Linked DNA regions of Homo sapiens: region 2 is linked to region 1. The links are contacts of gene promoters, found by promoter capture Hi-C in blood cells and fetal thymus (Javierre and others, 2016). All regions are on one chromosome and are shown on one strand. The core of a region is centred on a gene start or on the middle of the fragment in contact, and the rest is flanking DNA. Distances in the headings are between cores, read along the strand shown.

What was found. Contacts are between HindIII fragments. The CHiCAGO score rates a contact against its expected background, and 5 or more counts as called.
Region 2: a contact is called between a fragment that was not itself captured here and the fragment with the promoter of OCRL in region 1, in 1 of 17 cell types (M1 macrophages). The highest score is 5.4, in M1 macrophages.

Annotation. Positions count from the first base shown.
Region 1 is chrX:129,537,106-129,543,398 of GRCh38, forward strand. It overlaps OCRL (OCRL inositol polyphosphate-5-phosphatase), which reads left to right and starts at 3,154. Exons shown (of 24, transcript NM_000276.4): 1 at 3,154-3,373; 2 at 3,639-3,718. The coding sequence starts at 3,335. RefSeq lists an enhancer at 2,987-3,281 and silencers at 2,998-3,057, 3,168-3,367. The HindIII fragment of the contact is 8,325 bases long and covers 1-4,018 here.
Region 2 is chrX:131,785,898-131,792,190 of GRCh38, forward strand. The region is part of intron 3 of FIRRE (firre intergenic repeating RNA element); the gene reads right to left. Among named protein-coding and RNA genes, the nearest start is that of FIRRE, 42 kb to the right of the region's middle. The HindIII fragment of the contact is 2,722 bases long and covers 2,622-5,343 here.

The sequences.
Region 1 (6,293 bases), core at 1,904-4,403:
TTCCTTTTTATTTCCAAACCTCTTCAATCTGTGGTCTCTTGTCTCCGTTTTCTCACAATACAGTTCCTCCTCAATTCCCCATAATCTTGTTTCTATCCTCACCACTTATTGAAACCAAACAATTATTGGTCTCCAGTGAACTCCTTGACACGTCCAAAGAAAGTCTCTTTGGCCCTCATTTTCTTGTCCTATTTTCAGCATTTGATACTGCTAACCTCCCCTGCATATTCCTTCTTTATCTTTCGTTTTCATTGACTGCAAATGATTTTCAGTGCAGGAAAGTACATGGAATAACAGAACCAATATATGTACCCACCACCCAGTTCTATCAAATCTTGCAACATCACTTTTCAGATTCTGTTTTGAGAAATAAATATTAGATATATTTGATATTCTCTGTATGCCTCCCCCGAGTGTCAATCCTCTCCCTCTCTTAAATTTGGTGATCATGCCCTTTCATGTTTTATATACTATTACAGTACTACTCATCTATGTAGCCATAAGCAATAGATGATATTTTCAGACTTTATATACACAGTATACTGTACATGTTTTGCAATTTGCTTTTCACTCAACATTATATTTTTGAAATTTAGCTGTTACTACCCATAGCTCAAATTCATTCATCGAGAACACCATTATTTATTCATTCACCTGCTGACATTTACTTGGCTTCCATTTTTGAGATTACAAATAATACTGCAATGAACATTCTTTTATATGTCTCTTTGTGCATATAAAAGGTAGAGTTTTGCCAGTGTCTATATCTAGAAATAGAATTTCTAGATTGAGGGGTATTGCCTTTATTAGACATCGTCAAATTGTTCTTCATAGCAGTTCTACCAACTTAAACTCCTTCTAGCCGTAAATCAGAGTTCCACTGCTAGAACTTCAACAACACTTGGGGTTGTCTGACTTTTTAAATTTTCACAAAACCGATGGTTGTGAAATGGTATCTCGTGGTTTTACTTTTCAATTTCCCTGAATAGTAATAAAGTTAGGCATCTTTTCATGTCTTTATTGGCCATCTGGGTTTCCTTGACTATGAATTACTTACTCAGATATTTTGTCAATTTTTCTATTAGGTTTCTTTCTTATTTATAGGAGTTCTTATATATCCTGGATACCAAGTCATTCATTCATTTAATCAATATTTTTCTAGCACCTACTTGGCTCCAAGAATGGTTCTAGGCACTGAGAATGCAGCTATGATCAAAACAGACAAAATCCTTGCACTCATGGAACTCAACATTCTAGCGGGTGAAGGTAAATGACCAATAATATTGATAAATAAAACAGAAGTGGTAGATAGTGATACATAAGCAGGGAAGAGGGATAGGGAACATGTATGTGTGGTGATGGAGAAGGGGATTGTTGAATTACAATTTTCAATAAAGTGGTCTAGGAAGGCTTCAGTGAGAAAGTGACATTTGAGCAAAGACCTGAAGGAGGTGAGAGTGCATGCAGAGTGAACAGCAAGTGTAAAGGCCCTGAGGTAAGAGTGTGCCTGGCAAGTCCTAGCAACAACAAGGAGTCAGTGTGACTAAGCAAAGCTAGTTAGGGAGAGTGGTGGGAAATGGTGGGAGATGTCCGAAAGGTGATGACAGCTTGTCTTTTTTTTTTTTTTTTTTTTTTGAGACAAGGTCTTGCTCTGTCACCCAGGCTGGAGTGCAGTGGCGCCATCACAGCTCACTGTAGATGTGACCTCGCTGGCTCAAGGGGATGCTCCCACCTCAGCCTCCTGAGTAGCTGGGACTGCAAGCACTTGCCACCACATCCAGCTAATTTTTATAGTTTTTGTAGAGACAGGGTTTTGCCACGTTTCCCAGGCTGGTCTTGAACTCCTGGGCTCAAGTGATCCTACCACCTCGGCCTCCCAAAGTGCTGGGATTACAGGCATGAGCCACTGTGCAGGCCAGTTTGTCTTTTAACTTGTTTATATTGTCTTAAAGTACATACATTTTGAAATTTCATGTAGCTAAATGTCTTATTCTCATTCCATATTCCAAGCTCATACTCAATTTTTTTTTCTGAAAGTTATAAAGTTTTGCTTTTCACATTTAGATCTTTAATCCACCTGGAACTGATTTTTCTTCCATGGTTTGAGGTAGGGGTCTAATTTTTATAATTTTCCATATGGATAAGCAGTAGTCCTAGTACCACTTAGTGGATAATCCATTCTTTCCCCACTGATTTGAAATGTCCCACACGCTGCATATCAACCTTCCGTATATGTGTGGTCTGTTTGAGGGGTTTATATTGTGTTTCATTGATTGTCTATCTCCACAGCATACTTTTAATTACTACAGATTTACAGTCACTCTTGATATCTAGTGTATTATAGATTCTGGAGCAAATGAATAACACGATCGAAAAATTACTTTGGGAAAAATATTTTTATGGCTGTCAACAGAGTAAACATGTCAAAGGAAAGAGTAAACCCAACAGGATTTATTTAAAGAAAAGTGCAATAACCCAGATAGGCTATCACAAGGGCTTACAATAAAGTTATGGCAGTGTGAATGGAGAGAAAATAAGGAATCTAAAAGTAATTCCACGTAAAATATTAACAGGGTGTGTTGACTGATTGGATATAGAGATGAGGAGGGGGAAGACGATATATGGCTTTCCAGTGAAATGATAATGAGTTAGTTTTGTGACGCAGTGATGTGTTAACAATGGACTCTATTAGGTAAGAGGTCTGGGCCAGGGATATATATTTGGACATTGTCTAGTTAGAGGTGAACTGGAGGGGACGCAGAGGAGGAGCAAAGGTCTGGGCTTTGGGGAATTCTCCGATTTAGGGCGTGGAAGAAAGAAGAGGAAAGGAAATGGTAGGATAACCAACACGGGACATTATAACCTTAAGAAATATATATATATATATATATGTATTTTTTTACTGAATGATGTGGGTCGTATTGACACAACAGGTTTGAGATCTCCCATAGGTATGACTGTGTTTTGTTTCTGTGGCCTTCAAAGTCCTCAGAACAATTTTGATGTCACAGGTGGCATTTAAAACCCATTCCTTGCTGGACCTGGTAGAGACGCCCCCAGTCCGTCAGGTCTCTCGCTGCAGTTCCGCAGTTTGACCGCAGGGGACGGAATCTGCGGCGGCCTGGAAAACTGGCGGGGGCGCGAGGCGCCGCTCTCTCTTGGGTCAGATTCTCAGCTCCCAGCTCCCCGCTCCCGGCTCCCGGCGCCCGGCGCCCGGCGCGGAGCTGTTCCTCAAACGACACGCAGCCGAGGTGGGTGGGTGTGGGGACGCGGGAGCCAGTGTCGTCGGATCGGCCCGCAGTCCGCTGTCCTGCTGAGCCCGGAGGCCGCCTGGATGGAGCCGCCGCTCCCGGTCGGAGCCCAGCCGCTTGCCGTATCCGCCGGAGAGAAGGGAGAGGGGAGGCCGCGCAGGGCCGGGGGTGGGGGTCGGGGGCCCTGCGGAACACGGTGGGGCGGGGCAACCGGGTGGCCCAGAGGCCGAGCAGAGAGGGGGAGGGGGCCGGCGCGGGAGACGAAGCAGGGCGGGGCGGGGCGGGGGAGGGCGGCGGTGGGGGGGGGGTGGAAGACCCCCTTCGCCCCGCAGTGCACCACTCCTCCCCACCGCGCTTCCGAAGGAGACCCTTGACTAGCGCCCGCATACTGTCGAGGGTATGGAGATGAAGGGTCCTCTCCGGGAGCCCTGCGCCCTGACCCTAGCCCAGAGGAACGGGCAATATGAGTAAGTAACCACCTGATTCCCACAGAGGAGGGGAGCCTGCCATTACCTCCCAACCCCAAACCGCGACGGGTCACCCACTGTCCTCCTACTGAAGCCACGCGGGCAACAGGTTCAGGTCCAGGTGTGAAGTGCCAGTGCTCTCTAACCTCGGGGCTTTGTCCCCAACTTCCAAGCCTCTGGATTGTGCTTGGCAGTGTGGCTCAGTGGAAGGACTGAATGGGCGGGGAAGCAGGAAGCCTGGGTTCTTAGTTCCTGCCCCTGCAACTGACATGTGTTGTGTAACGTTGGGCAAGTCAATAAAGCTTTCTGGGCCAAAGTTAACTCTTCAGTTTAATAAAACCATTAACTGCCTTACCTTACAGCCTTTGGAATTATAACTGGGGGAAAAATAAATGCGAGAGTGGCTTCCAAAAAGTAAAAGTGCTATGGAAATGCTTCATTGTTAACGTTACAGACTTGTCTTAACCCTATTCAGCTGGTTTCTCCAGTCTCCCCGTCCCCTTATCCCACTGGGTTGAAGGCATATTCATTAATTCAGTAATGGTTTAGTGTAGGCCAGAAACTGCCTCACTTACTGACTTTACTGTTAGAAAGAAAAGGTAATGAAATGTGTAGAGATAGAAATGACAGTATTTTATCAGTGTGTCACCTTCCTCTCTGCCATAGGAGCTCCGTAAATACTGTTGACTGATTGATCAAAAGATTATTTTGATAAGCTATCACCATAGCTGCTAACCTCACTCTATTGTCACTAATATCTTATCTCAAAAATATCCATGGTGACCATTACGTATCATAGGCCCCTATCCCTGTGTGCCCAAGACACCTCACTTGGATATTCATTGGCTTCTTGACATCATATTCCTTCCCAGTTTAAAAATTGTTCACTTAAATCTTGCCATCTCCCAACATTGGCTTCTGCCTAAAACCAATTTTCTCAGTCCCCACTTTTAGATCCTCTGTATCTATGCTGTCAGATTTACACGGAAGAAATTCCCACTGGCCCAACCTGCTCTTCTCTGAGACTATTGGTGCCACTCTAACTGGATGTCAGCTAATTCTGTGAAGTAGCTCTTTCATAGGTCCTGCTTAGTCAGCTCTACTGGGAAGTTCATCAAACCCGGATTTCATCAAACCCTGGAAGACTAGTTTAATGAAACTAAACTAAATTCAGAATTTAATAAAACAAAATTCAGCAGAAAAGTGGAACACCACTAACATTTCCAAAGGCTAGAGTGGGTTACAGAGAGGTGACCCTTGGGCAAACCAGTAAAACTTGTGTGCCTTGGTTTCCTCTAATGTAAAAACAAAATCATGAAGATTGAATAGAGTAGCTACATTGTTGAGATGACCACAGCCCAGAATCTAGTCCCTCGGATTAGTAGATTTGGAACTCTGTTGAGCTAATAAGGAAGTCGTGTGTTCCAATTCTGTGTAAGTTATGGGGGTATAGTTGGGGGTATATGTGGGGGTATGGGGCTGCTATATAACTAACATTAATATATAGGTAACACTATATAACAACTATATAACTAACAACTAATATAGTTGTTGCTATATTAGCAGTTTATATATAAACTATGTAAATAGTTTTAAATATATATAAACTATAGTTTTAAATACATATAAACTATAGTTTATATATAAACTAACATATAACTAACAACTAATATAGTTGTTGCTATATAACTAACATTCAATGGCTGCTTATGTGCCAGGTACTGTTCTAAGCCCTTTTCATTAGTTAGTTCATTTAATCCACATGTGAGGGTTACTATAAGATAGTAATATCATCATCCCCCTTTTATAGATACAGAAATTGAAGCACAGACAGGTTAAGTCACTTGTTTGCAATTAGGGAGTAGAATACCTGAGATCTGATCCTATGTAACATGTCTCAGAATTACACTGAGAAGTTTCTCTTGAAAGCATTTGCTGGAGACACCTAATACCATAATACCATCTGTAATCCTCATATTCTTGTCTCTCTGGTGTCTTTTCTGACTCGAGTGTCCAGAACTTTTTACTTTTGGCTTTTTTATCCTAGAACTTGAAGCCTGACTTAAATCTTTAGGTCTGTGGTTCCTACTGTCAACCATAGGAAATTTGCTTGACCAAAATTACAATTAAAAATCAGGGTTTTTTTGGAAACAGGGAATCAAACACTTAAGATTCATATTTTTCAAGGATAATAGATTATGACAAAACCTGTTTGACCTTTAACCTTCCTTGAACAAATCAAAGTGTTTCCTAGGGATAAGGCAGAGTTGGCATTCAGGATTTGTCACTCTTTTCTGTTTGACAACTACCAAATTCTGAATTCCATTGTTTTGCTGTATACCAATTATTTCTAATCTTTATATTCTGAAATGAATAATTACACTCAGAATTTTTATGCTTATTCTTAGCCCTACTCTTTTATTGTAATTTAGTGGGTAACACGTAGTAAATACTCAATAAATGTTGGTGAAATTCACTTAAATTCTCAGTTTATTTGTTTTGTAATAGTTTTTAACAGTACTGTCCAGATGAAGCTTTAATGCTAATGTTCAACACCATTTCTTGTTTATGTATT
Region 2 (6,293 bases), core at 2,733-5,232, 2.2 Mb after region 1:
CCAACATTTTGAGAGGCTAAGGCAGGAGGATTGCTTGAGCCCGGGAGTTTGAGACCATCTCGGGCAATTTAGTGAGACCCTGTCTCTACAAAAAATACAAAATATACCTGTGCGTGGTGGCATGCACCTGTGGGCCCAGCTACACAGGAGGTGGAGGTGAGAGGATCACCGGAGCCCAGGGAGGTCGTGGCTGCTGTGAGCCACGATCATGCCACTGCACTCCAGCCTGGATGACAGGGCGAGACCCTGTCTAAAAAAATATATATATGGCATTTTTAAATCTGTATATGCATATAAACAGATATGAATACACACAGTCCCACACACATTTTACATTCAATATAATTGGATTCATACTGTTTGCAATTTTGTACAAAATCTTCGGCATCACCTTATAATCTTTGAATATATCCATATCAATATATACTTTTGAGTGCTTGAGTTTTTTTATATTTTACTCTAGAAAAACTTTAAGAAATTACAAGCAGAAAACATATGGTAGGTCAAACCTAGTGAGAAGTAATCACTTTTAAAATATCTATGCTATGTATTATGATCTCTTTCCTATGCACATATAATATGTACATTTATAAACTAATGTTCAAATTCCCCTGTAGTATAATCATTGAAACAAGTTTTCTTCACTGATAACTTGAGTACTTTTCAAATGTAATTAATTATTCTTGGAAATAATGATAGGTTTAAAAATATTGGCACTTTTTGAAACTGTGTTGGTAAAATTCATGTAACATAAAAATAACCATTAAAATGTTCAAATTTGGTGGCATTTAGTACATTCACAATGCAGTGCAAGCACTACCTCTGTGTAGTGGCAAATAATTTTCATTACCACAAAAGAAAACCGTGAACTCATTAAGCAGTCATTCCCCATTCCACTCTCTGCCCAGCTCCTAGCAAACACTAATCTACTTTCCCTCACTACTGATCATCACAATAAGTAGCCTTTTTTCTTTCTTCTTTCACTTAGCATGTTTTCAAATTTCATCCATGTTGTAATATATGTCAGTACTTCATTTCATTTTGTAGCTGAATAATATCCATATGTATATATCACATTTTGTTTATCCATTCATCAAGTGATGGATGTTTGCTTATGTTCACCTTTTGGGTATTGTTAATAAATATATACAGTGAGTATATAAAAGTACTTGTTTGAGTATTTGTTTTCAATCATATGTGGTGTATACATAGGAGTAGAGTTGCTAGCTCATATGGTTCCTTCTATGTTTAAATTTTTGAAGTACTGATAAACTGCTTTCTGTAGCAGGTGCACAATTTAGCATTTCCACCAACACTCTAGAAGAGTTCTAACTTCTCCACCTCTCCACTGATATTTGTTCTTTTTAAGTAATTCCCATTCTAGTGGGTGTTAATTGGTACCATCAGGTGGTTTTGATTTACGTTTCTGAAAAGACTAATAATGGAAGCATCTTTCATAGAACTGTTGGCTATTTGTATATCTTCTTTGGAGAATTGTATATTTAAGAGCTTTGCCTATTTTTAAAATTTGCATATAATTGTACATATTTATGTAGTACATATATTTTCATGCATCCACAAAATGTGTGATAACCAAAAAAGGATAACTGGGATACTCATCACCTAATGCATTTATTATTTGTTTGTGTTGGAAACATTTCAAATGTTCTTTTAGGTATTTGGAAATAAGCATTAAATTATTGCTAACTATGGTCGCCCTAAGTATGCTATTGAACACTAGAACTTACTCCTTCTGTCCAACTGTATTTTTGTAGCCATTAACCAACCTCTCTTCATTCCCCTCCTTTCCTAACTTCTGGTATCCACCATTCTACTCTATAGTTCCATGAGATGGATTCTTTCAGCTCCTGCACATGAGTAAGGACATGTGATAATTTGTCTTTCTGCATCTGGCTTATTTCACTTAACGTAGTGTCCTACAGTTCCATTCATGTTGCTGCAGATGACAGGATTTTATTCCTTTTTCTGGCTCAATAATCTTCCTTTTTATATGTATGTCACATTTTCTTAATCCATTCATCCGTCAGTGAACACTTAGGTTGATTCTATATCTTTGCTATTGTGAATAATGATGCAATAAACATGGCAATGCATATATCTCTTTGCTGTACTGGTTTCCTTTCTTTTGAATATATACTCAGCAGCGGGATTGCTGCATCATACGGTAACTCTATTTTTAGCTTTTTGGGGAAACTCCATCCTATGTCCCATAGTGGCTGTATTAATATACATTTACAGCAACAGTATACAAGCATTCCTCTTTGCTTCCTAGCCAGCAACTGTTATTCTCTGTCTTTTTAGTAAGAGCCATTTGAACTGGGGTAATATGGTATCTCACATGGTTTTGATTTGCGTTTCCCTGACGGTTAGTGATGTTTAACGTATTTTCATATATCTGTTGGCCATTTGTGTCTTTGTTTCAGAAATGCCTATTCAGATCATTTGCCCATTTGTAAATCAGATAATTTGGTTTTTGGTTATTGAGCTGAGTTTGTTTTACATTGTGATTTGTTATTCCATTGTTAGATCAATAGTTTGCTAAGATATTCTCTCTTTCTGTAGGTTGTCTCCTCACTTTGTTGTTTTCTTTGCTGTGCAGAAGCTTTCTAGCTTGATTTACTCTCATTTGTCTATTTTCGCTTTGATTGCCAGTGCTTTTCAGATCTTATACAAAAAATCTTTCCCCAGAACAATGTCTTAAAGCATTTCCCCAGGCTCTTATTCTAGTAATTTCATATTTTCGGGTCTTTTCTTAAATTTGTTTAGCCTTGTTCTGTGGCCTAACATATGCTCTATACTGGAGAATGTTCCATATGCTGATGACAAGAATGTATATTCTATAGCAATTGGATGAAATATTTTGTAAAGGTCAGTTAAGTTCATTTGGTCTAGAGAACAGTTTAATTTCAATGTTTCTTTGTCTAATTAAGCTGTCCATTACTGAAAGTGGAGTACTGAAGTCTCCCAGTGTTGTTGTACGCCATTCTATCACTCTGTTTAGATCTTCAAATGTTTGCCTTATATATTTCTGTGTTCCAGTGTTGGGTACATACATATATACAATTGTTATATCCTCTTGCTGTATTGGCATTTTCATTGTTATACAGTGACCTTCTTTGCCTCTCTTTACAGTTTTTGACTTTTAATCTATTGTATCTAAGTATGACCTTTCTCTCTCTCTCTCTCTCTCTCTTTCTTTCTTTCTCTCTCTTTCTTTCTTTTTTTTTTTTTGAGATGGAGTCTCGCTCTGTGGCTCAGGCTGGAGTGCAATGGCATGATCTCGGCTCACTGCAATCTCTGCCTCCTGGATTCAAGGGATTCTCCTGCCTCAGCCTCCCAAGTAGCTGGGATTACAGGCGTGTGCCACCACGCCCAGCTAATTTTTGTATTTTTAGTAGAGACAGGGTTTCACCATGTTGGCCAGGCTAGTCTTGAACTCCTGACCTCAGGTCATCCGCCTGCCTTGGCCTCCCAAAGTGCTAGGATTACAGGCGTGAGCCACCATGCTGGGCCAGAGTATAGCCTTTCCGGTTCTTTTTTCATTCCTGTTCATTTTCATGTTGCTGCTGATGCCCTCTCTGATTTGAGGTCTTCTTTGTCTCAGCAAAAGACGAGTCCCCAAATTTAATGCACTGGGGTTGCTAGCTTCGACTCCACTTTTTGTCTCTAGCTGCCCTCAGAGATTTTTCTTCCTACAGGCAGTCAGGATGCTTTCTAGGGAGTGAGGCAAGAACAGCATTCCTGCAAAGGACACCAAAATGGTAGAGAAGCTAGCTGCCTGCCTGGATCTCACATTTTACAGAGGAAACCGTGAGTCCAGGGGGAATTTTCTACATGGTGCCTAGCAGCTTTGAGTTGGGGAATCACAGAGACAGAAGTCTATTAATCTTTCCAGCTGCTCATATGTATTCACTTTCTTGTGGACCCACAGATCGTCATAGTCTCAATTTTCAGTTCTGCAATATTGCTTGTGACAATCTTGGCACTAGACAGCTATTTTTAGTTTTCTTTGGGGTAAAGTCAGATTGCTTCCACTCTACCATTTTGGTGATGTCACTCTCCCTTGGCCTATTTTTTAAAAATTGGGTTGTCTTTTGTTGTTTTTAAGAGTCCTTTATATGTATTGGATATTAGCAGTTTTTAGATAATTGATTTGGAAATATTTCCTCCCACTCCGTAAGTTGGCTTTTCAAGTTCTGAATTGTGCACTTTGATGCAAAATTTTTTAATTCCAGGGAAGTCCAATTTATTTTTTCTTTTGTTATTGGTGCTTTTGGCGGTATAGCTAAAAAATCATTGCCAAATCTAAAGTTTTGAAGACTTATTCCTATAGTTTCCCTGAAGGTTTTATAGCTTTAGCTCTTACCTTTAGACATTTGATACATTTCAAGTTAATTTTTGCACATGATGTGAGGTAGAGGTCTAACTTCATCCTTTTGCATGTGGATAACCAGTTGTCTAAGCACTATTTCTTAAGGAGTCTATTCACGTCTCATTAAATGAACTTGATAACTTTGTGAAAAGTCAATTGACCACAATGTCTGGGTTTATTTTCAGACTCTTCATCTCTTCCATTAATCACTGTGTGTATTCTTATTTGATCATCAGCCTGCTTTGATTACTCTAGATTTTCTAGTAAATTTTGAAATCTAGAAGTGTGTCTTCCACCTTGGTTTTTCTTACTCAAAGTTTGGTTACTCAGATCTCTTGCAATTTAATAGGATCTTTAGAATTTGCTCTTTCTTTTTCCCAAAAATAAATGCTCATGGGAATAATAATTAGGATTACATTAAATCTGTAGATCTCTATGGCTAGTATTGCCATATTATAAATATTTAGTCTTCTAACTCATTACCCACAGGATGTCCTTTTTAAAAATCCAGGTAATCTTTAAGTTCTTCTCCAATATTTTGTGATTTTTCAATGTACAAGTCTTTCATCTGTTTAGTGAAATATTCTCCTTAAAATATGATTTATTTTGATGCTATTATAAATGGAATTGCTTTCTTAATTCAATTTTCAGATTGTTCATTGCTAGTGTACACAACTATAACTGATTTTTACGATTTAATGTTCTATCCTGTGGGGCTTGCTGAATATTGTTCATTAGCTCTAATATGGTTTTTCTGCAGTTTAAAGCATTTTTATAATATCATCATCTTTATGAAGAGAGATAATTTCCATTTTTTTTTTCTTTTTTTTCTTTTCAACTTGGATGCCTTTTATATATCTTCATTGTCTGATGACCCTGACTAGAATTTTAAGTGTACAAGAAAAGGGCAAAAGTGTGCATTCTTGCCTTGTTCATGATCTTGGGAGGAAAGCTTTCAGTCTTTCACTCTTGAGTATAATACTACCTGTAGATTTTTTATAAATGCCCCATATATCGTGTTGAGAAAATGATCTTCTAATGATAGATTCTTGATTGTTTTGAGTTGCCTTTCCAGAGAGAGGGACTACAGAAGTTCCCTAATGCATACTTTTCATTGATGTCACTTTCGCCACCTGTTTTTGAATTCGTAGAAACAATCATGCTTCTTGAAAACATACCTGCCACAATAGTCATACATGATAACGTGAAGTGAGATCACGGGTAATGCCATCTCCAACAAATACTATTAAAATGTAGATTGATTTTCAGTCCCTTTCACTGTTTTTGGTTTATGTGTTTATGTACAACAGTCCACTAGAAGAAGATGTAACTCTTCCTTGATTAGCTCAGTGGTTCAATTTCTCTTTATGCCCTTCTAGTCTTCAGACAATTGGGTGCCCTTGAGACCCTCAGAAAACTTACTTGCTCCTGCTACATCCCACCTGGAATTGGTCTGTCCTTGGTGTTCTCACATTGCTGCAACAAATGACTCATGCCTCACAGCAGAGTGACACTGCCTGAAAGCCTGCTAACTCTTGCTCCAAGGGAGAAACATAACGCACCCATCCATTCCCCACGTAGGCACCGTGTAAAGTCTCAGGAAATACTTGAAGTATATGTAACACATGGGAATGTTGTTATTTTGGTGTTAAATGATGCGACCATGAGATATAACTCTGTGTAACCTCGACAGGAATTGAACATATGCATTATGAGTATCATTCCATGTGGAGTATATGTGGCGGGCAGCAATGACAACTATCGGATCCCTCCTCTATGGCTGATGCCAAATTACTGCCTATAGTGCAACACATGAGGCTAGAACATGAAGAACTCCCTGGTTGTCTGGGCGGGGAGCCAGATCAAAGAACACCAGAATTTGTAAATTGCTTGCCAGAGA